7 separate regions of the Homo sapiens genome follow, and regions 2, 3, 4, 5, 6 and 7 are each linked to region 1. Evidence: promoter capture Hi-C in human tissues and cell types (Jung and others, 2019). All regions are on one chromosome and are shown on one strand. The core of a region is centred on a gene start or on the middle of the fragment in contact, and the rest is flanking DNA. Distances in the headings are between cores, read along the strand shown.

What was found. Contacts are between HindIII fragments. The study calls those that stand out against the background at their distance.
Region 2: a contact is called between a fragment that was not itself captured here and the fragment with the promoter of ATP10A in region 1, in 1 of the 25 tissues and cell types used here (IMR-90 fibroblasts).
Region 3: a fragment that was not itself captured here is called in contact with the fragment with the promoter of ATP10A in region 1 in 1 of the 25 tissues and cell types used here (thymus).
Region 4: a fragment that was not itself captured here is called in contact with the fragment with the promoter of ATP10A in region 1 in 1 of the 25 tissues and cell types used here (H1 embryonic stem cells).
Region 5: a fragment that was not itself captured here is called in contact with the fragment with the promoter of ATP10A in region 1 in 3 of the 25 tissues and cell types used here (aorta, dorsolateral prefrontal cortex and mesendoderm cells).
Region 6: a contact is called between a fragment that was not itself captured here and the fragment with the promoter of ATP10A in region 1, in 1 of the 25 tissues and cell types used here (H1 embryonic stem cells).
Region 7: a fragment that was not itself captured here is called in contact with the fragment with the promoter of ATP10A in region 1 in 2 of the 25 tissues and cell types used here (IMR-90 fibroblasts and dorsolateral prefrontal cortex).

Annotation. Positions count from the first base shown.
Region 1 is chr15:25,861,859-25,864,667 of GRCh38, reverse strand. ATP10A (ATPase phospholipid transporting 10A (putative)) reads left to right here and starts at 1,341. Exons shown (of 21, transcript NM_024490.4): 1 at 1,341-2,020. The coding sequence starts at 1,572. The HindIII fragment of the contact is 9,757 bases long and covers 1-2,809 here.
Region 2 is chr15:25,457,443-25,460,251 of GRCh38, reverse strand. All of the region lies in intron 4 of LINC02250 (long intergenic non-protein coding RNA 2250), which reads left to right. Among named protein-coding and RNA genes, the nearest start is that of UBE3A, 20 kb to the right of the region's middle. The HindIII fragment of the contact is 5,774 bases long and covers 1-2,809 here.
Region 3 is chr15:26,268,799-26,271,607 of GRCh38, reverse strand. No RefSeq gene overlaps it. Among named protein-coding and RNA genes, the nearest start is that of LINC02248, 120 kb to the left of the region's middle. The HindIII fragment of the contact is 6,664 bases long and covers 1-2,809 here.
Region 4 is chr15:26,246,335-26,249,143 of GRCh38, reverse strand. No RefSeq gene overlaps it. Among named protein-coding and RNA genes, the nearest start is that of LINC00929, 130 kb to the right of the region's middle. The HindIII fragment of the contact is 8,843 bases long and covers 1-2,809 here.
Region 5 is chr15:25,498,554-25,501,362 of GRCh38, reverse strand. It overlaps LINC02250 (long intergenic non-protein coding RNA 2250), which reads left to right. Exons shown (of 5, transcript NR_187215.1): 4 at 111-278. Among named protein-coding and RNA genes, the nearest start is that of UBE3A, 61 kb to the right of the region's middle. The HindIII fragment of the contact is 4,387 bases long and covers 1-2,809 here.
Region 6 is chr15:26,168,414-26,171,222 of GRCh38, reverse strand. No RefSeq gene overlaps it. Among named protein-coding and RNA genes, the nearest start is that of LINC00929, 54 kb to the right of the region's middle. The HindIII fragment of the contact is 3,110 bases long and covers 1-2,809 here.
Region 7 is chr15:25,567,119-25,569,927 of GRCh38, reverse strand. The region is part of intron 1 of LINC02250 (long intergenic non-protein coding RNA 2250); the gene reads left to right. Among named protein-coding and RNA genes, the nearest start is that of LINC02250, 10 kb to the left of the region's middle. The HindIII fragment of the contact is 3,421 bases long and covers 1-2,809 here.

The DNA of each region.
Region 1 (2,809 bases), core at 92-2,591:
CTACATGTCAAAAGCCCACCCCTGTGACTGGGGGATGGGATTATTTTCTTCACACCTGTCACCACTCTACCTTCTAACACTGGGTTCTGGGCAACATTGTGGATGGTGGCAAAACTGGGCAGAGATGTAAGAATGTCATAACTGGAGCCGGGTAAGCCAGGGTGCTGGAGGGGAGGGCCTCCCCAAGCCAGGGTCCTGGCGAAGACGTGATTTGAGTCCATCCAGGGCAGTGCCTTGTTAGCAGGCACCCCCAGGAAGAGCCTGGGGCCACGGCCAACCGCCCAGCCACGGCCTCCTGGGCAAGAAATAACTGCTTCTCATCTCTGTACTTCTTGAGTGGGAGGCAAACAGTCACAGCCATGAAACATCTGTGGGGTCTCACTGCGGACGTGGGGGACTCCCAGCTCCTTTTTCCATGCCGTGCTTATTCTCCCACCCCTTCTCGGATGCCCCATGATGTGGAGGGGAGCCCTTCGCCCCACACTTCTGGGACACCCTCCTGACGCTCCCCTCTCCTCCCCACAACCATCCTCGCCTCCCCACAACCATCCTCGCCTCCCCCGCCGTCCGGGCCATGACAGCCACCTCAGAGCTACAGCGCACAAGGAGCGTTTCGGTCCTCATGATTTCCCAGGGAGGGAAACAGACACTCAAATACCTGCAAACCAAATTCTGTCTTTGCTATAGCGATATATTTCTCCTTTCCATGAAGAAAGAACAGAAAAAAGAAAAAGAATTTATTTAGGAGAGGAAGGAAAGGCAGTAATGATGATGGTGGAAAGGAAACGGTCTAGTTCGCCCAACAACGGAATCTGAAAGTGGTGGGGGCTGGGAAGTGGGGTAGGAAAGAAGTTCTTAGAGGCAACGCGGAATCGCCCTTCCCAGGGCTCCCCAGGAGCAGAGGTCCTGCGTAAAAAAGACTTAAAAATTGGAGCACTGGATGCCATGGATCCTTTGGATTTTGATTCCAGTTGATCCCTGGAGTAAGGTCCTAACCGGGGTCTCCCGAGGTCGTTTCGCCGTCCAGGATGGAGCAGGTCTGGCCCCTGGAAGGGCGCGCGGGCTGCTTGGGGACGGGGGCGCCTTTTCTCGCGCTTCGCGGTTTCCTCTCTCCTACTGCAGGCAGCGCGCGTTTGCAGCGTTTTGGGACCGAACTGATGCTTCTGGGAAACGAAACTAAACCTCTCTGAAGTTTCCAGCTCGGGCTTTTTTTGTTTCCCGCTATCCGGCGTGGCCCAGTCCGGGCGCGGAACGAGGGCGGGGCCGTGGCCACCGCGGCGGAAACGACCCGGGCCGGGGGCGGGCGGCGAGGACAAGGGGGCTCTGTGCGGCACCCGCCCAGCTTGCGCCCTGGGGACTGCGGCCGGGCGGCGGGGCTGGACGGGAGTGGACGGGGCTGGGCGCGGGCTGGGCGCGCTGGGCCGGCCAGGCGGCGCGCTGACCGCGGTCTCCGTGCGTCCCGCAGGCGGGGAGCTCGCACCGCCGCGCCCGGGCCGCGAGTGATGATAACCTAAGAGGCCGGCGCGGGCGGGCGTGAGCGGCGGAGGAGCCGGGCGCGGCGACACGCGGCCATGGAGCGGGAGCCGGCGGGGACCGAGGAGCCCGGGCCTCCGGGACGGCGGAGGCGCCGAGAGGGCAGGACGCGCACGGTGCGCTCCAACCTGCTGCCGCCCCCGGGCGCCGAGGACCCTGCGGCTGGCGCGGCCAAGGGCGAGCGGCGACGGCGGCGCGGGTGTGCCCAGCACCTGGCCGACAACCGGCTCAAGACTACCAAGTACACGCTGCTGTCCTTCCTGCCCAAGAACCTGTTCGAGCAGTTCCACCGCCCGGCCAACGTGTACTTTGTCTTCATCGCGCTGCTCAACTTCGTGCCGGCGGTGAACGCCTTCCAGCCCGGCCTGGCACTGGCGCCGGTGCTCTTCATCCTGGCCATCACGGCCTTCAGGGACCTGTGGGAGGACTACAGCCGCCACCGCTCCGACCACAAGATCAACCACCTGGGCTGCCTGGTCTTCAGCAGGTGAGTTGGGCGGGCGGGCGAGCGAGCGCGCGGTGGCGCAGGGCAGGGCGCCCCGGGAACTTGGTGTTGGGCACAGTGATTGGCAGGGGCTGGGTGCTTAGAAGGCAGCTCCACTCAGGGTGGAGGGCCCGGCTGCGCGGGACCCGGTGCCGACCGAAGCCACAGCGCCGCCAAGGCCTCTCTGTGCCTCCGCCGCAGCTAAAGGGGCGCCCTGGATGCGGGGACGCGTGGGGATCCCCTGTCACTCCGTGTCGGGGCCAGAATGATCCCAAGGCTAGAAACCGACGGCCGCTGGACATCCTCATCCACAGCCGCTCCCACCTGAAGTGAAAGGCAGGAAAAGCCAGCCTGGCCCCCTGGCCTGAAGTCCCTGCCTCAGTCTTCGGCCAGGCACAGTGGTCTCTGAACAGCCGGCACAGGACAGTAAAGCTCAGTCTGCTAACAGCTCGGCTCAGGACAGCAGCAAAGTGAAACTGCCGCCAAGTGCTGATATGTCTGGCACGGCCCAGGTACCAGGGCAGGGGAAATAACAGCAGTGTCCATCCTCCACTGTGAGCCATGAGCCGCGAGCCAGGCACCGCCCGGTAGCTGCCTGCCTAATTTTCTTCATCTTAACCTGCTTCCTGGGGGAAAGAGGCTGTGGGGTGTTTGTGAGCCCTGCCACGGGCAGTACCAGGGGTGACCCTGCGATGGACCACTCCTGCTCTTTTTCCCTCCCTGAGTTTTAGAGTCTCCGGCGGACCTGTCCAGAGGCCTGCGGCCTTTTCATCCTTTATGCTCTCCACCCCA
Region 2 (2,809 bases), core at 183-2,682, 400 kb after region 1:
ATCAGAGTGAACAGGCAACCTACAAAATGGGAGAAAATTTTCGCAACCTACTCATCTGACAAAGGGCTGATGTCCAGAATCTACAATGAACTCAAACAAATTTACAAGAAAAAAACAACCCCATCAAAAAGTGGGTGAAGGACATGAACAGACACTTCTCAAAAGAAGACATTAATGCAGCCAAAAAACACATGAAAAAATGCTCACCATCACTGGCCATCAGAGAAATGCAAATCAAAACCACAATGAGATACCATCTCACACCAGTTAGAGTGGCAGTCATTAAAAAGTCAGGAAACAACAGGTGCTGGAGAGGATGTGGAGAAATAGGAACACTTTTACACTGTTGGTGGGACTGTAAACTAGTTCAACCATTGTGGAAGTCAGTGTGGTGATTCCTCAGGGATCTAGAACTAGAAATACCATTTGACCCAGCCATCCCATTACTGGGTATATACCCAAAGGACTATAAATCATGCTGCTATAAAGACACATGCACACGTATGTTTATTGCGGCTCTATTCACAATAGCAAAGACTTGGAACCAACCCAAATGTCCAACAATGATAGACTGGATTAAGAAAATGTGGCACATATACACCATGGAATACTATGCAGCCATAAAAAATGATGAGTTCATGTCCTTTGTAGGGACATGGATGAAATTGGAAATCATCATTCTCAGTAAACTATCGCAAGAACAAAAAACCAAACACCACATATTCTCACTCATAGGTGGGAATTGAACAATGAGAACACATGGACACAGGAAGGGGAACATCACACTCTGGGGACTGTTGTGGGGTGGGAGGAGGGGGGAGGGATAGCAGATAGCATTAAGAGATATACCTAATGCTAAATGACGAGTTAATGGGTGCAGCACACCAGCATGGCACATGTATACCTATGTAACTAACCTGCACATTGTGCACATGTACCCTAAAACTTAAAGTATAATAATAATAAAATTAAAAAAAATTAAAAAAAAAAAAGAGACGGAGTTTTGCTCTATCACCCAGGCTGAAGTGCAGTGGTGTGATTATAGCTCACTCCAGCCTCCAACTCCTGGGCTCAAGTGATCCTCCTGCCTCAGCCTCCTGAGTAGTTGGGACCACAAGTACACGCTATCATGCCCAGCTTTTTCCCCCTTTCATGTTAGTGCAGTAAACTATATTTACAGATTTAATATTAAATCATCCTTACATAGCTGAAATAAACTCAAATTAGTCATAGCATATTACCTTTTGTATCCTTTGTTAGATTTGAGTTGCTTGTATTTATTTAGGATTATTGCATCTATATCAGTGAGTAAAGTGAGCTGATAATTTTTTTATAATGTCTTTGCCACCTGTAAAACTAAGCTATAAAACCATTTGACCCTAATTTTTTTGTGTGAATATTGTTAACCATTGCTTCAATCTCTTTAATAATGATAGTCTATTTTTAAAACATTTGTTATAATTTTTATATATTTTCAAAAGTTATAAAGTTGTGTATTATTTTATTTTCTATAATTTAGTCAATATTTTTTGTTTTTAATTTACATGCATATTCTAACTATATTTACAAAAATGAGGCCTTGTAGTTTTTAAGTTTTATACAAAATGAGTTTTGTGGTTTTTATCAGTTGTTTTTAAAGCTTTCAGTATATTATGAACGGCTTCCCTGGTCTTGTTCAACACTGAAAATAATTTCATATTATGAAGAAATAAATTTAACATCTAATCATTTGGGAGCTAGACATTTCACCTCTTTACAACAGAATTTAATACTTTGAGTACCAGGAGAAGTCCCAGCTATAAACACATTGTAATCTGTTCTTTTATAGTTTCATACGTATTACGCTTTGGAAATTTTTCTTTCAACTTAACCGTTTACCTTGTTATTCTGTATTATTGAATCACCAGTTTAAAATATTTTGAAGCTATTTTGTTAAGTACACACATGTTTAAAACAGAGGTATCAACTTGGTGTGTTGAATGACCTTTTCTATCTAATAATACGAAAAAGAATAGGACTTAAGACCATAAGCACTAATAGGGTTGGAAGGGATCACTACATAATGAGAAAAGGTTGGTGTTTGACATCCTTATACTTTCATCCTTATAGTTTCAACTTTTGCATGTTCATGTTTTTTTGACTGTAGGTTTCCTTCATTTACATATATTGACAGTACTGATGTATTTGGATCTGGTTAGTGGATAATGGATCTGCCCAGATTCTTGTGGATCCTTTTCAGCCATTTTTGCTTAGCCCCCACTGTCAGGGAGTTTTTTATTTCCTACAGCTATCACTTGCCACTGTTTAAAGTAACTGTCTCAGTCTCCTAGTCCCCCAGACCCTCTGGAGGTACCCAGGAAGAATTCATCAGTGAATGATGGGGGTGAGAACATAGAAGCCATAAACACACACTCCAGAGTTGCTCTTCCAGGTCACCCGAAGCCACCACTGCATGTTCATGAGGTTGTGCCTTGCTTCGCTTTGTTCCTGTCCATGTTCTGTTTCACCCACTCCATTACCAGTTTCCCCTGGGAGCATTTCTTTAGTAAAACATTTATACAAGTATTCTCATCTTACAGTGTGCTTTTAGGGAATCTCAAAACCCATTTTTACAATCTTAGTTTACTATTTCAGTTCTCTCCCACTTTTTCCATCATTTAATTTGTCTTCCTTTTTTTTGCGGGGGAGGGGGGATATTGACATCTATGTCTCTTTCACTCCCAGTGAAGAAAGAATCTTAGTACACTTTCAAATAACTCCAACTCCTCACTCTTTATGTTGGTAATGTCGGTTTAAAATTCAGAGTTAT
Region 3 (2,809 bases), core at 88-2,587, 410 kb before region 1:
GTTCAATTTTGAATAATTTCAATAATTGAACTTTGACAATAATTGAAATTTCAATAAATTGACAACACAATTTTGATGGACTGAATTTACCAAGATAGAGATTTTGCTATTTTTTTAAAGTCCTGCTGAGTCAAAAGGCGGTGCCTGGAAAGTTATAAATGTCCCAACATAAATTATAATTTATCAAAACTAAACCCAATTAGAAAGCTGGGTTTTTTTGTTTTGTGTTTTTTTTTTTTTTGTGAGACAGAGTTTCGCTCTTGTTGCCCAGGCTGGAGCGCAATGGTGCAATCTCAGCTTACTGCAACCTCTGCCTCCTGGGTTCAAGCAATTTTCCTGCCTCAGCCTCCCAAGTAGCTGGGATTACAGCATGCGCCACCACATCCGGCTAACTTTTGTATATTTAGTAGAGATGGGGTTTCATCATGTTGGCCAGGCTGGTCTCGAACTCCTGACCTCAGGCGATCTGCCCGCCTCGGCCTCCCAATGTACTGGGATTACAGGTGTGGGCCACTGCACCCAGCCCAGATAGGAAGTTTAATAGGCTAATTTTCATTGAGGAAACAGAGTAAGCATCCAAAAAGCTGCATGCTCCCCTGCACTGGGAAAGAAAAGGAAAAGGAAAAGGAAAACAAAAGGAAAAGAAAAGAAAAGAAAGGTTCCAAGTCAGGATGATGAATCAAAGGAATTCTATCGAATCTTTAACAATAAGATCTTAAGGTGTTTTAATTATTTGTGATCACAGAAAAGGAAAACTACATTGATCTATAACATGAATTCCAATCCTGTCAAATATTGAACCACAAGAAAAATACAGTCTAATCTCACTTATAATGCAAATGTAAACATTTTATATAAAATATTAACAAGAAAAATCCCACAGCACATTTTTAAAAGTATGCATTATGAAGAAGGAATTCTAGAAATATATAGAATTCCAGAATTTTAGGATGGTTCAATATGAGAAAATGTATTAATGCATTTCACCATATTAATAGATCTAAGAATAGAACTCATAATCAGATACTGCCATAGATATTAAAATGTTATTCTAAAATATTTGCTACTCAGTCACAATTTTAAAAAATGCTTAGTATTTTACCATGGTAATAGATCATATTCAGATACTTCTATAGATAGTAAAATGGTATTAGAAACAATTTGACACTTAGCCCTACTTTTTTAAAAAAGCTTAATAGGTCATCCAAAATTGGGCAGAATCCCTATGCAATCCTGAAACACAAAGTGGAACACATGGCAAGACGTCATATATTCTGGAGCAAATGATTCAGGAGCATACGCTTGTCAACTCTCCCTTAAGTTAATATAAAACTTTAATGTGATTCCAATAAAAATAACATTTTTTCCTCTGGCCCAGACTAATTGATTTTAACTTTTATGTAGAAAATTAAGCAATCAAGAATAGCAAGGACAACTGTGAAAAGGAATAATGATGAATAAGGTTAGTTCTACCAGATATTAAGACATATTATAAAGTGCTATAATTAAATCATATTAATAATGCATTAAAAGACACACAGGCCAGTAGAAATAAAGTCCAGAAATAATCCATAGCACATTTGGAATTTGGGGCTGACTAAATATGTGTATTATTTATCTATTCTGTATAACAAATTGTGACAAACTTAGCAGATTAAAACAACACTCAAACCTGCAGCCCTGTGGTTCAGAAGCCTAAGGCATGATTTAGCTGGGCTCTCTGCCTCGTCTCAGTAGGATAGAAGCCATGTGTCATCCGGGCCGTGGCCTTCTCAGGGAGTTAACTGGGGAAAAACCAACTAACTCCTGGCTCCTTCAGGTTGTTGACCAAATTCATTTCCTTGGGTCTGCAGGACTGCAGGTTTCAGTTCCTACCTGAAGGCTGCCCTCAGCTCTCGGATACCACCTGCAGTTCCTTCTCATGTGGGCCTCTCAAACATGGCAGCTTGTTTCTTCAAAGCCAGCAATGGAGAGACTGATTAGAGCATGAGATACTGCCAGCCATATGGACTCGTACAATGTAACAGAAGCACGAGAATGGCACCCCACCACCGCTGCCATATAATGTCATGTAATGCAATCACATGAATGACATCCTATCACTCTTGCCGTGTTCTATTGCTTAGAAGCAAAGTCCTGTCCACACTCCAGGGAGGGATATATGAATTTGTGAATACCAGAAAGTGAGGATCGCCTTTCGGCATCTCAAATCATCTCAAATCACAGAGAAGAATAAATAGTTAATAAAGGGTGTTGGAAAAAAATGGATAGCCCTGTGGAAAACAAAACCTGTGCATCTCTATTGAACATAGTGCACCAACATAACATCCAAATGGATTAGAAATACAAGTGCAGAATGAAATCATTCTAGTACTAGAAGAAAATACGGATGCGTGTCTCAGTAATTTGGGAACGGAAAAGCCTTTTAAATATAACTCAAAGATTGGTAATTTCACTATATTTTAAAATGTTGCAAAAAAAGAAACATAAGCAAAGTCAAAAGACAAATAAGATTAGAGAAAATATTTACAATTCATACCATAGACAAAAGGATTATTTTTCTTAAAGTATAAAGAACTCTTAAACTTTTGGTATTAAGACCAAAAAATTAATAACACAATCTGTGCGCAAAGCACAGAAACAGACACAAAACATGTAATCACACAAAAATACTTATGGTAATTTACTTGTACTCATAGTAAAAAGAAAGGCATGTTAAAACTATGCTGAGAGACCCATTCATCACCCACCAGGTTGGCACAAATCTAAAACTTAAGAACCCACTCTCTGCTGGCAAGGCTAAGGAGAA
Region 4 (2,809 bases), core at 160-2,659, 380 kb before region 1:
CCTAACTTATTCTATCAGGCCAGGTTACCGTGATAACAAAGCCAGACAAAGACACTGCAAAAGAAAACCACAGACCAATATCCCTTATGCAGAAAACCCATGACAAAATATGAGCAAACCAAATTCAACAGCACATTAAAAAGTCAATTTACCATTATCAAGTGGGATTTATTACTGGAATCCAAAGATAATTCAACATACCAAAATTGAACAAGAAAGAAAATACAACACATTAAAAGAAAGAAGAAAAAAAATCATTATCTCAATCAATGCGGAAAAACCGTTTGACAAAATTCAACATCATTTTATGAGAAAAACATTCAGCAAACTAGAAGTAGAACAAAACTACCTCAACATAATAAAAGCCACATGTGAAAAACCCATAGTGAACATCATACTCAATAGTGAAAGACTGAAACTTTTCCTCTAAGATTGAGAATAAGATAATCATGTCTGCCTTCATGATTTCTATTTAACATAGTACTAGAAGTTCTAGCTAGAGCAATTAGGTGGAATAAATAAATAAAATCCAGATTAGAAAAAAATAAGTTAAAGTGTCTTTGTTCACAGACGATATATTCTTACATGCAGAAAATCCTAAGGATTGAAAAAAAAAAACTGCTGGAACTAATGAATGAATTTGGCAAATTATCAGAATAGAAAGTCAAAATACAAAAATCAGTTGCATTTATATATATCTATAATAAACAACCCAAAAAGAATATTATGGAAACATTTCCATTTATAACAGCATTAAAAAGAAAATATACACTCAGGAATTAAATTAACCAAGGAAATCAAAGATTTGTTCAGCGAAAACTATGGAACATTATGGAAAAAAGTTAAGGAAGACATAGATAAATAGAAACATATTCCATGGTCATGGATGGGAAAACAATATTGTTAAGATGTCAATACTACCCAAAATGATCTACAGATGAAATACAATTTCTATTAAAATGCCAAAGACATTTTTTACAGAAAAATTTTAAAAACCATCTTAAAATTCATATGGAATTTCAAAGGACCCAAAATAGCCAAAACAATTTTGAAAAAGAACAAAGCTGGAGGACTCACACTTTCTGATTTCAAAACTTACTACAAAGCTACTTAAAATGGTGTGGAACTGGGATAAAAATAGACATATAGGTTAATGGAATAGAACACAAAGCCCAGAAGTAAACCCTCACATGTATGATCAAATGATATTTGACAAGTGCGTAGACTATTCAATGGAGAAAGCGCAGTCTTTGCAACAAATGATACTGGGAATACTGGATGTTCACCTGTAAAGGAATGAAGGTGGACCCCTACCTAACACTATGTACAAAAATAAACTTAAAATGGATCAAAGATCTAAATATGAAAACTAAAAGTAAAAACTTAGAAGAAAACATAGGGTGAAAACCACTACATTGAAGATGGCAGTGATTTCTTGGATAAGACATCAAGATAAAGAACAGACAACCAAAGAAAAAATAAACAAATGAGACTTCATGAATTTTTTTTAACTTGTGCATTAACGTATAACATCAAGAGAATAATCAGGCAACCCACAGAATGGGGGAAGATATTTGCAAAGCATATATCTAGTAAGAAATCAATATCCAGAATGTATACAGAACTCCTAAAATTCAACCACAAAAAACCAACCAACCAACCAACTCAATTTAAAAATTAACAAAGGAGGCTGGGTGTGGTGGCTCACGCCTGTAATCCCAGCGCTTTGGAAGGGTGAGGCGGGTGGATCACGAGGTCAGGAGATCGAGACCATCCTGGCTAACACGGTGAAACCCTGTCTCTATTAAAAATACAAAAAAATTAGCCAGGCGTGGTGGCGGGTGCCTGTAGTCCCAGCTACTCGGGAGGCTGAGGCAGGAGAATTGCGTGAACCCGGGAGGTGGAGCTTACAGTGAGCTGAGATCGTACCACTGTACTCCAGCCTGGGCAACAGAGCGAGACTCCGTCTCAAAAAAAAAAAAAAAAAAAATTGACAAAGGACTTGAATAGACATTTCTCCCAAGAAGAGATACAAATGGCCAATAAACACATGAGAAGATGTTCAACATCACTAATAATTAAAGATATGCAAATCAAAACTACAACTAGATACCACCACACACCACTTGGGATGGCTCCTATCAAGAAACAGAAAATAAATGATGATGAAGATGTGGAGAAATTGCAACCTTTGTGCACTGTTGGTGGGAATGTAAAATGATACAGCCACCATGGAAAACAGTATGTCAGTGCATCAAAAATTTGAAGAACTACTATATGATCCAGTAATTCCACTATCATATATATACACAAAAGAATTGAAAGCAGAATCTTAAAGACATTTGTATACCAATATTCATAGAAGTATTATTCATAGTAGCCATAACACGGAAGCAACCCAAGTGATTATGACAGATGAATGGATAGGCAATGTGGTATATATGTATAATGAAATATTATTCAGCCTTAATATGTAAAGAATTTCTGGTATACACTACAGCATGGATGAAGCTTGAAGACATTTTGCAAAGTGAAATAAGCTAGTCACAAAAAGACAAACATTATATGATTCCACTTATATGAGGTACCTAAGCAAAATCATAGAGACAAAAAGTAGAATGCACTTTGATAGGGGATGTGGGGAGGGAGGAAATGAGGAGTTACTGTCCATTGGGTATAGAATGTCAGTTTTACAAGATGAAGAGTAATGGAGATGGATGGTAGTAATGGTTGCACAACATTTTGAATGTACTTAATGCCACTGAACTGGTTAAATACACTTAAAATGGGTAAGAATACATTTTACATT
Region 5 (2,809 bases), core at 80-2,579, 360 kb after region 1:
CATTAAAAATACATTTCTTGAGCTCCTTTTTTGGTTCATTCTATTTTTATCCCCCGTTTTTTCCTTGGCACTTCCTATCCATGATTTTCTGCATATCTAATATCGCGCAGAGGAAAAAGCACTGCCTGGACCTGTCCACCAGCAAGCGGACATTGCTTTGCATAAACAGGCAGAGGGGCAGGCACCTCAAGGGACTCGCAGAAGTGCCTGGGTATTTTTAAATACTTGAGGAGAACACAAGGATGCCTGTCGGACATCTCAGGAACTGCTAGCTCCAGGTAAATTGGTTTTAACATTAGGTTGCTAAATTTCCTTCCATGATGTCATATCTTTGCAAAGCTTGGTTTTTGGTGACTGTTGTGATAGTTGTGGGGGAAAAAGTGATATGTCCTATCTAATTCCAAGGTTTTACATATTGCTAGTGCCCAACTGATGCACCTACATATCATTAGTAAATAATTGTGGTTATTTAATATTACAATAAAATATGATTTATTTTCTTCCAATTTGTACATATTATTTTTTACCCAGCTCCTAAGTTGTTAGGACATAAATACTTATTAAGGTAGTTGGACCCAACAAGGTCATAAATAGAACTGTTAGGTATTTCATGTGGCCTCAGGGCCCTGTGAATAAGATTACTAAGACATTAAGGGTGCTGTGAACTGAAAATGTTTAGGAACTGCTGAACTAAACTATTCACAGAGGTGAGCTGGTTTATTCCTCTCAAACATCTTAGTCATTTCAAGGCTGGGCATGATAGCTCACAACTGTAATCCCAGCACTTTGGGAAGCTGAGGTCAGAGGATTGCTTGAGGCCAGGAGTTCGAGACCAGCCTGAGAAACATAGTGAGGCCACATTCTCCACACAAAAAAAGTAAAAATTAGCTGGGTGTGGTGGTGCACACCCGTAGTCCTAGCTACTTGGGGAGCTGAGGCAGGAAGATTGCTTGAGCCAAAGATGTTGAGGCTGCAATGAGCCATGAGATTGCACCACTGTACTCTAGCCTGGGCCACAGAGTGAGACTCTGCCTCAAAAAAAATTAATTAATTAATTAAAAATCATTTCAAAGTATGAACCATGAATTTAAATAACTGATATAAAAATCTGGAAAGAATGAATCAGAAATAAAAGAAAAGAGCTTGGGTTTGAATCTTGCCTGCCCCACAAACTGGGTGAGATCAGGTGACCTATCTGAAACTTGGTTTTCCTCTCCTTTGTGTGGGTTAGAGGAGATAAGGTCTCAGCACCTAAGATCCTTCCTGGTACTTAAAAATGCACAATAAGTGGTATCAATTATGATTTCTAAATCAGACATGACCCATACAAACATTTCCTTCCTGGAAAGGAGGGGTCTTAATTTGGGGAGTCCAGTGCAAAATAAAAATATGAGGATTTTTGTTCAAAAATTAGTAAGAATTTCAAGATGGTCTCAACAGAGCTGATCAGCTGTGAAGCTACGTGAAGCTGCCCCTGCTCTTGCCAATTTTCTCAGGGTTTTCCAGCTCAAATGAATCTTTCTGCACCGAATCTTTATACTCTTATCACCTGTGCCAAATAATTAGTAGCTCACCATTATCCTGGTCCCCAGTCAACTGTAGCAATATGTAATATCATCATATTCACTACTAGCTGCATGGTGACATTCTATTTCCCAAGTGGACTGTGTTAGTCTGTTTGTGTTACTATAGAGGAATGCTTAATGGCTGGGTAATTTATAAAGAGAAGAGGTTTAACTGGCTCACAGTTCTGTAGGTTGTGCAGGAAGAGTGATGCCAGCATCTGATTCTGGTGAGGACCTCAGGAAGCTTCTATTTGTGGCAGAAGGGAAAAGGGAGCAGTCGCATCACATGGCAAGAGTGGGAGCAAGAGAGAGAGAAGGGGTAGGTCTCCCCAGACTCTTTTAAACAACCAGATCGTGCATGAACTAACTGAGCAAGAACTCACTTATCACCAGGAGGATGGTATTAAACCATTCATGAGGGATTTGCCGCCATGATCCAATCACTTCCCACCTGGCCCCACCTACTACACTGGGAATCACATTTCAACATGAGATTGGAAAAAACATCCAAATGATATCACAGATGATCGCATCTTTGTGGGCAAGGGGCTGTAAAGAGTGCTGACTCATTTTCCACCCCACAGCCTCTAGGCACCGCTGGCACATATTAGATGCTCAACAGATACCTGTTGACTAAATAATTGATGGGAGGGTGGTATGGCTATATAGTTGTTAGCCTCTTACTACCATAATCTCCAGGCTGTAAAGGCTGTGAGTGGTAGACTGAAAGCATGCCAGGTAATCTCTATAGAGGGCATACTAAAGAAACTAAGAGGACATCGCACAAGTGGGTGTGTTCATCCTGTGTGTGTGTGTGTATTTCGTTTTCGTTTACGGTTTTTCATATGAATAAGCTTTATTTTTGGAACAGTTTTAGGTTCACAGTAAAGTGAAGCAGAAAGTACAGACAGTTCCTATATACCCTCTGACCCCACACATGCACAGACTCCCCCACTACCAACATTCCCCACCAGGATGGTACATTTGTTACTACTGTTGAAATGGTATTGACACATCATCACTCAAAATCCACAGTTTACATTAAGATTCACTCTTGGTGTTGTATATGGGTTTTGATAGGTGTATAATGACAAGTTTCTACTGTTATAATATCAGATAGAATAGTTTCATTGCCCTAAAAATCCTCTGTGCTCTATTCATCTCTCTCTCCCCCAAATCCCTAGTATTAACTGATCTTTTTGCTATCTCCATAGTTTATCCTTTTCCAGAATGTCACATACTTG
Region 6 (2,809 bases), core at 229-2,728, 310 kb before region 1:
TGTGCATGTTAATAAATTTGTATGCCTTTCTTCCTATTAACCTGTCTATTATCAGTTTGTTTTATAGACTCAAATGATCGAATTTTCAGGGGAAAAATTTAAACTTCCTTACAACCACAACTGCAACAATGACTATGAAGCTAACATTTTCTACACCATAAAATCCGTATGAAAATCTTTGACTTGCAAGTATTTAGCATTTGCTTGAGTGAACCACATAAATCTCAGCCATAAGGATAATCTCTCAGAGCATCATCAGAAAGATAATGGTGGGTTACAATGAAGATGCAGCATCCGACTAAGGTTTCACAATAAAATGTAAAACATTCAGAGATAGCCCTTCATGCAATGAGAGTGCTGAATAATAACAATGATCTCATTTAAATTTATGTATCGGATAATGAAATGAAATGGCCCCATCATTTCCAGAGGAATCTGTAGAAATCACTGGTTTCATTATTTCATGTCCTGTGCTCTAGAGCTCACCTGGCGTGTAAATGGTCTCATTTATATCCTGTGTTCCTTCCACATCCCTTACACTCTCATCGCCATAGTCACTAATGTACTTTAATGAGAGCAAAGCATGGGGAGACTCAAATGAACCAATAAAAATAGAAGGGATAAAGTATTATTAGGTGGAATGAATACAAAACTAAACTTATGCTATGTGAAGTGCTGTTGATTTTATTGATGCAGGCTTACAAAGGCATGCCAAATTCATGCTTTAGCTGCCCATGAATAATGGCAATAGCAAATCATTTTCTCTAATAAGACATCACTACCATCTTTTCTTCAGGGTCCAAGTTTCCAAATTAATAACCATTTTTATTAATTTTCTTGGATGAAGCGACTACAGTTAGAAATAGTTTCTCCCTCCGGTCCCCATTTATTTCCTACACACAGACTTATGAAGTCAGACATAATTCTAACATTGTTATATAATCAGATTTATCTGTCTGGCAGTGGCAGAGTTTGGGGGCATTTTTTTTTTTTTTTTTTTTTTTTACCAATTTACATGCAAGCTTTAAAAGGGGAAAATTTAAATTTTTAAATGAGGCATAAAAGTGGAAGCAAAAGTTAGTTTCAGTAAACAGCAGAGAGCTGAAAAAAAGTGAAAAATTGGTTTCCTTAAGGGGAATACAGTAAACGACAGGAAACAAGAGGAGAGGAAGACGTGAGAGGAGAGAGCGATGGAGAGGCCTCCTGTTAGCCAGCTCAGATGGCACCTCCTTAAGACCTGCTGCACAAGAAGCACTTTCCTACATGTTTCCAGGAAGCATAGGTGACAAGAGTAGCTTACAGGTGCCTCTGCACTCCACAGGTGGGACACATGATGGAAGCACCAGGCAGATAGACTCATTTTTCTTAATACTAAATGCTGTGTCCAAAGGCTTGCTGGAGAGGAGACTGTCCGTGGGCTCCTGTTTTCACTTTTCAATTCCAGAGTTGATGGCAAAAATCTCAGTTTGGAAATGATGAAGAAAGAACCAACCTTTTGCTGTATTCTCCACACCTCCTGCCATCATCACCAGAGTCTCTGTCTATATAAGAACAGTAATTCTTATTCATTGAACATTTAAAATATGCCGAGAACAATACAAGGCTTCATAGACATTGTCTTATTGTATCTTCACAATGACCATGTGAAGGAGGCATTGTACATCCTGGTTTTCAAATGAGGAAGCCAAAAGGCTCAGGTCTGTCCAGGTTCTAACCACTGTGCCCAGTGCCTCCCCAGCACACATCCTAGCTTTACAGGTTCCCATGGGCTCAAAACTGGACTAACATGGTATGGTGGAAGGTGTTAATGAGTGGAAAACCCATTTGGCATAATCCTGAAAATGTTATTGAATGCCTCTGATTCTAAATACTTGTATCTATGAATAGGAAGAATTATATCCACCTAGTTTAGCAAATTGCACTAAGGATTAAATGAAATATTGTTGGTAAAAGCACTCAGTCCACATGAGCTCAACACATGTTCCTCTCCTGGTTCAGGGACAGTCTCCACTCTGCCTCAGCAACTGCCTGTGGCCACTGAGCTCTGCCCCAGTTCAAACGGCATCCTCTGAAAAGCCCTTCCCTAGCCATAGTCCAGGCGCACATGACACTTCCCCAAATCCACTCTTCAGCCTTGTGTGGCAAGAGCCTCCCGGCCAACACCTGGTGCTCCTCTCTCTGGCTTCTCAAACTCAGCATGGACGCCTGCTAATTCATTACCAGTGCAGATGCCTTTGTTGTTTTGTCTCTGTGTCCTAAGTTCCCTCTGAACCTAAAATGGTGTAGACCCTCTCAAAATGCAAAACTGGAAAAATGTGGGCCTTGCAGCCCGAGCCCAGACCTGCTGAACCAGATCGCTCTATGTTGGACTTGAGAATCCAAATTTTAACAGGCTTCCCCCAGTGAGCCATGGATTCCTGAAGTCACAGGATAAAACACACTGACCTTAAAAAGAAGAGGCTGACATGTCCTTTCCAGTGTTAGGTGTTAAAGAAGTTTCTGGGGATTGTACTGTTAGGCAGATGTTTTGCTGTGATGTTAAGTATCATAATCATAACAATGTAACTACATGAACAAATAACAACAGTGATGCTTTTTATTGTAGTAGGAAGTTAGAAAATAAACAGAAAGTAGGCTGAATGTGGCAATTACCAGATAATAGGGTCAGCCAGAAAAGAAATTCAATCAAATGTTTCCAAATACTCTCCTCCAGAGAGAGAGCGAGAGAGAGATTGCTGTAAAATTCCAATTTCTAAATACTCTAGCAGAGTAGCATGTGACAATGGATATATAACGTATCATCTCACAG
Region 7 (2,809 bases), core at 92-2,591, 290 kb after region 1:
GCAGATTAACAGAGAAAAAAGACAAACAAATGTATTAATGTGCACAGGGGACAATCACAGAGTGATCACCCACTTACTCGGTGCCCTACAGAAGCTCATTTACCCTTTCCTAGGGGTGGAGGTGATGGGAAATGTAGATGATCTTTTGATGGGCAGGAAATCATTAGGGAAGATGAATGGACCCCAAAGGCAGGAGGCAGATGCTCTGGGAAAGTGGGGTCAGAGCTGCACAGGAACAAAGGTTGTCTTATTCTGCAGGTAAAGCCCCCCAGGTAATCTCTTGGAGCTGCTCTTAGAAGAATAGATGAAAAGTCCGTCTGGGCACAGTGAGGACTCTGAGTCTTTTCTCTTCTGTGCTTGATCGTCCTGCTTCTTTAATGAGATTCCTAAGGAGGGAGTCTTAAGACAATTGCATTTAAGCTTTCTTAGATAAGGAAATTCTAGAGAAGAGTCCCTCTTGGTGCTTCAGGAAAGAGTATCAGGGAGACAAAGAGGTGGGGAAAAAGTCAGAGAGAAACCTTGACCCTAAGGCTTATTTTGGAGGCCTTTCAATTGTCAAAGCACTCCGCATGCCAAAGCGCCATATTTTGGGGAATCATTTCCTGTGCCCCAACACCTATCACTGGATCTTCCTTCCAGACTGTGATTCAGGCCAACACTCCCCTTTGTGGTTGAGGTAGCTAAAATTAGGATTTCTGTGGTTATTTTTAACCAAAAGCATCTGACATTTTAACTGAAGCAATTGTTATCATTTTCATTCAAGGGGTGAGGAGATTATCAATATGCTGGGAGCTCAGCTGGGCATGCATTTCTGGATCCTCACTCAGGGAGAAAAACTCACCGACTGTGCGATTGGCAGCAGCTACAAACCAGCACAGTCTGCAGGTCACAGTGACAAGTTTCAAATAGAAACCTGGCATCCAAAAATATACAGCTTTGGCCACGAAAGCATGGGGTTATTCCAAAGTATTCTGAGGCTAGTCTTGCTGGCGCCCACAGTGGCCTATTCTGAGGCATGTTTTAAATAAGAGTCCTGGCAGCAGGCCTCCAAGCTTCAGAAATATAAGCTGGTTCCTCTCATCAGTCACTGACTGTCTCTCCGAATGTTGTCGAATCTGGATGTTCTCAGCAGTTCAATTGTTCTTCACATTGTCCTTTGTGCGAGCCAAGGAACTGAACTTTCTAAGTAAAGATTTAAAAAGCATCCTTGCAATGAAGGTAGAAGGTCTACTGGCTGGGTTGAGCCTCTCTGCTGTCTTCAATGGCATCTGGAACTCAAAAGGCACCTGGAAGCATTTTCCACCTTCCATACATGGGTGCCAGTGTTCAGGCCTGTGCCAGGGTCCCAGGGTCAGGGTCGCCAGGCTCTGCCTTCTCCTGGGATAACTGTTGGCTCCACCCACGATACTATCAGTGCAGTGTTCCTGAGCAAACGTTCAATGGGCAGCATGCAGAAGCCACTTTTGGAATTCCCCCATATGTCTTTTCTTTCCATCTAGCTTCAGAAATATATGTAAACATGTGGAAACCTTGCTTAAAATGAGCTCAATTCTGTGACGTGCTCTCTAAAAAGCATAAATGTATAATGAGAATACATTTAGTCGTGGAATTTAGGGCCATAAAAATGACTCTCTCATCCCGACGACCTCACCTGCCCTCAAGCAGGCTATGCCCTGGCACTCGCCCATGCAGGAGGCAGGTTGGATGCCCTCATCCTCCAAGACACAGATTGGGGATGAGCCTGCAAGCTCCTGCTTCCTCCACGGAGCTGACACAGCTCTCAAAAACACACAGGGCACTGCCCACAGGGCTTCTGTGGGTCGGCCTTGGGCTCACCAATCACATTCATGCCTGATGCCTTGTTGTTCCTTTCCATTGTTACACGTTGGTAGCCCAGCCAGATCAAAAGGAGCCATTTCCATGTTAAAACACAGTCCACCCATCTGTCTTTTGCCTCTTCAGGCTACAGTTCTCGCCCCTGCAGGGACGGTCAAGGGCTCCAGCAGGTGATGTCTCTCTCTGGCCTTCCTGACTCCCCTGACCCTACATTTCAAGGACATCTGTGCAGCCCCTTTCTTATGCCTCCTCCCCTGATCACAATAGTCTAGTTCATGTCAGAGTTCCTGAGTTAAATGCCACATGAACTGTTCTCTAGCATACCAAGCTTCTTTTGTCACTGAATTTTGATAAGGACTCCCTCCTAGCCAGGCTCCTGGAACCCTCTTCTTAACTAAGCCTTGTCCTTGGCCTGCTAAGCCCAGTTTCAATCCCCACCTTTGACAACTCATCAAATTCCTCTTAGTAATTTTTCATCCATTGATCCTGTCTCCTTGCCCGTTGGCTACAAATCCCCAGATGTCATTGCTGTACTTGGAGTTGAGTTCTGTCTCTCTCCCTTATTGCGATAGTCTTGACCCTTAGTGAAATAAGGAAAATGCAAGCCTAAAACAACGAGGCAGAGAACACAAACTGATAAAGCAGCATCCGGGATCTGGCCATAAGTATACAGAATGGCAAGGGCAGATGTTTTTTAACTAGAAAAGATTCCTAATTCTCTTCTTAAAAATAAAATGAAGCCAGGAAAATAAAGGTCTTTAAAAATTAACCTGCTTCTACACACACACACACACACACACACACACACACACACACAAAGTGATTAATTTCCAAACCAGGAGCATAACACTGAAGCGGCATTGTTGTCTGGGGTAAATACCCAAGGTTTGGTGCCTCATGCCAAGGAAATCAAGGACACGGACACACGTGGAATGGGATTAAGAGTGGAACTTTCATAGGCAAAAGAAAGAGA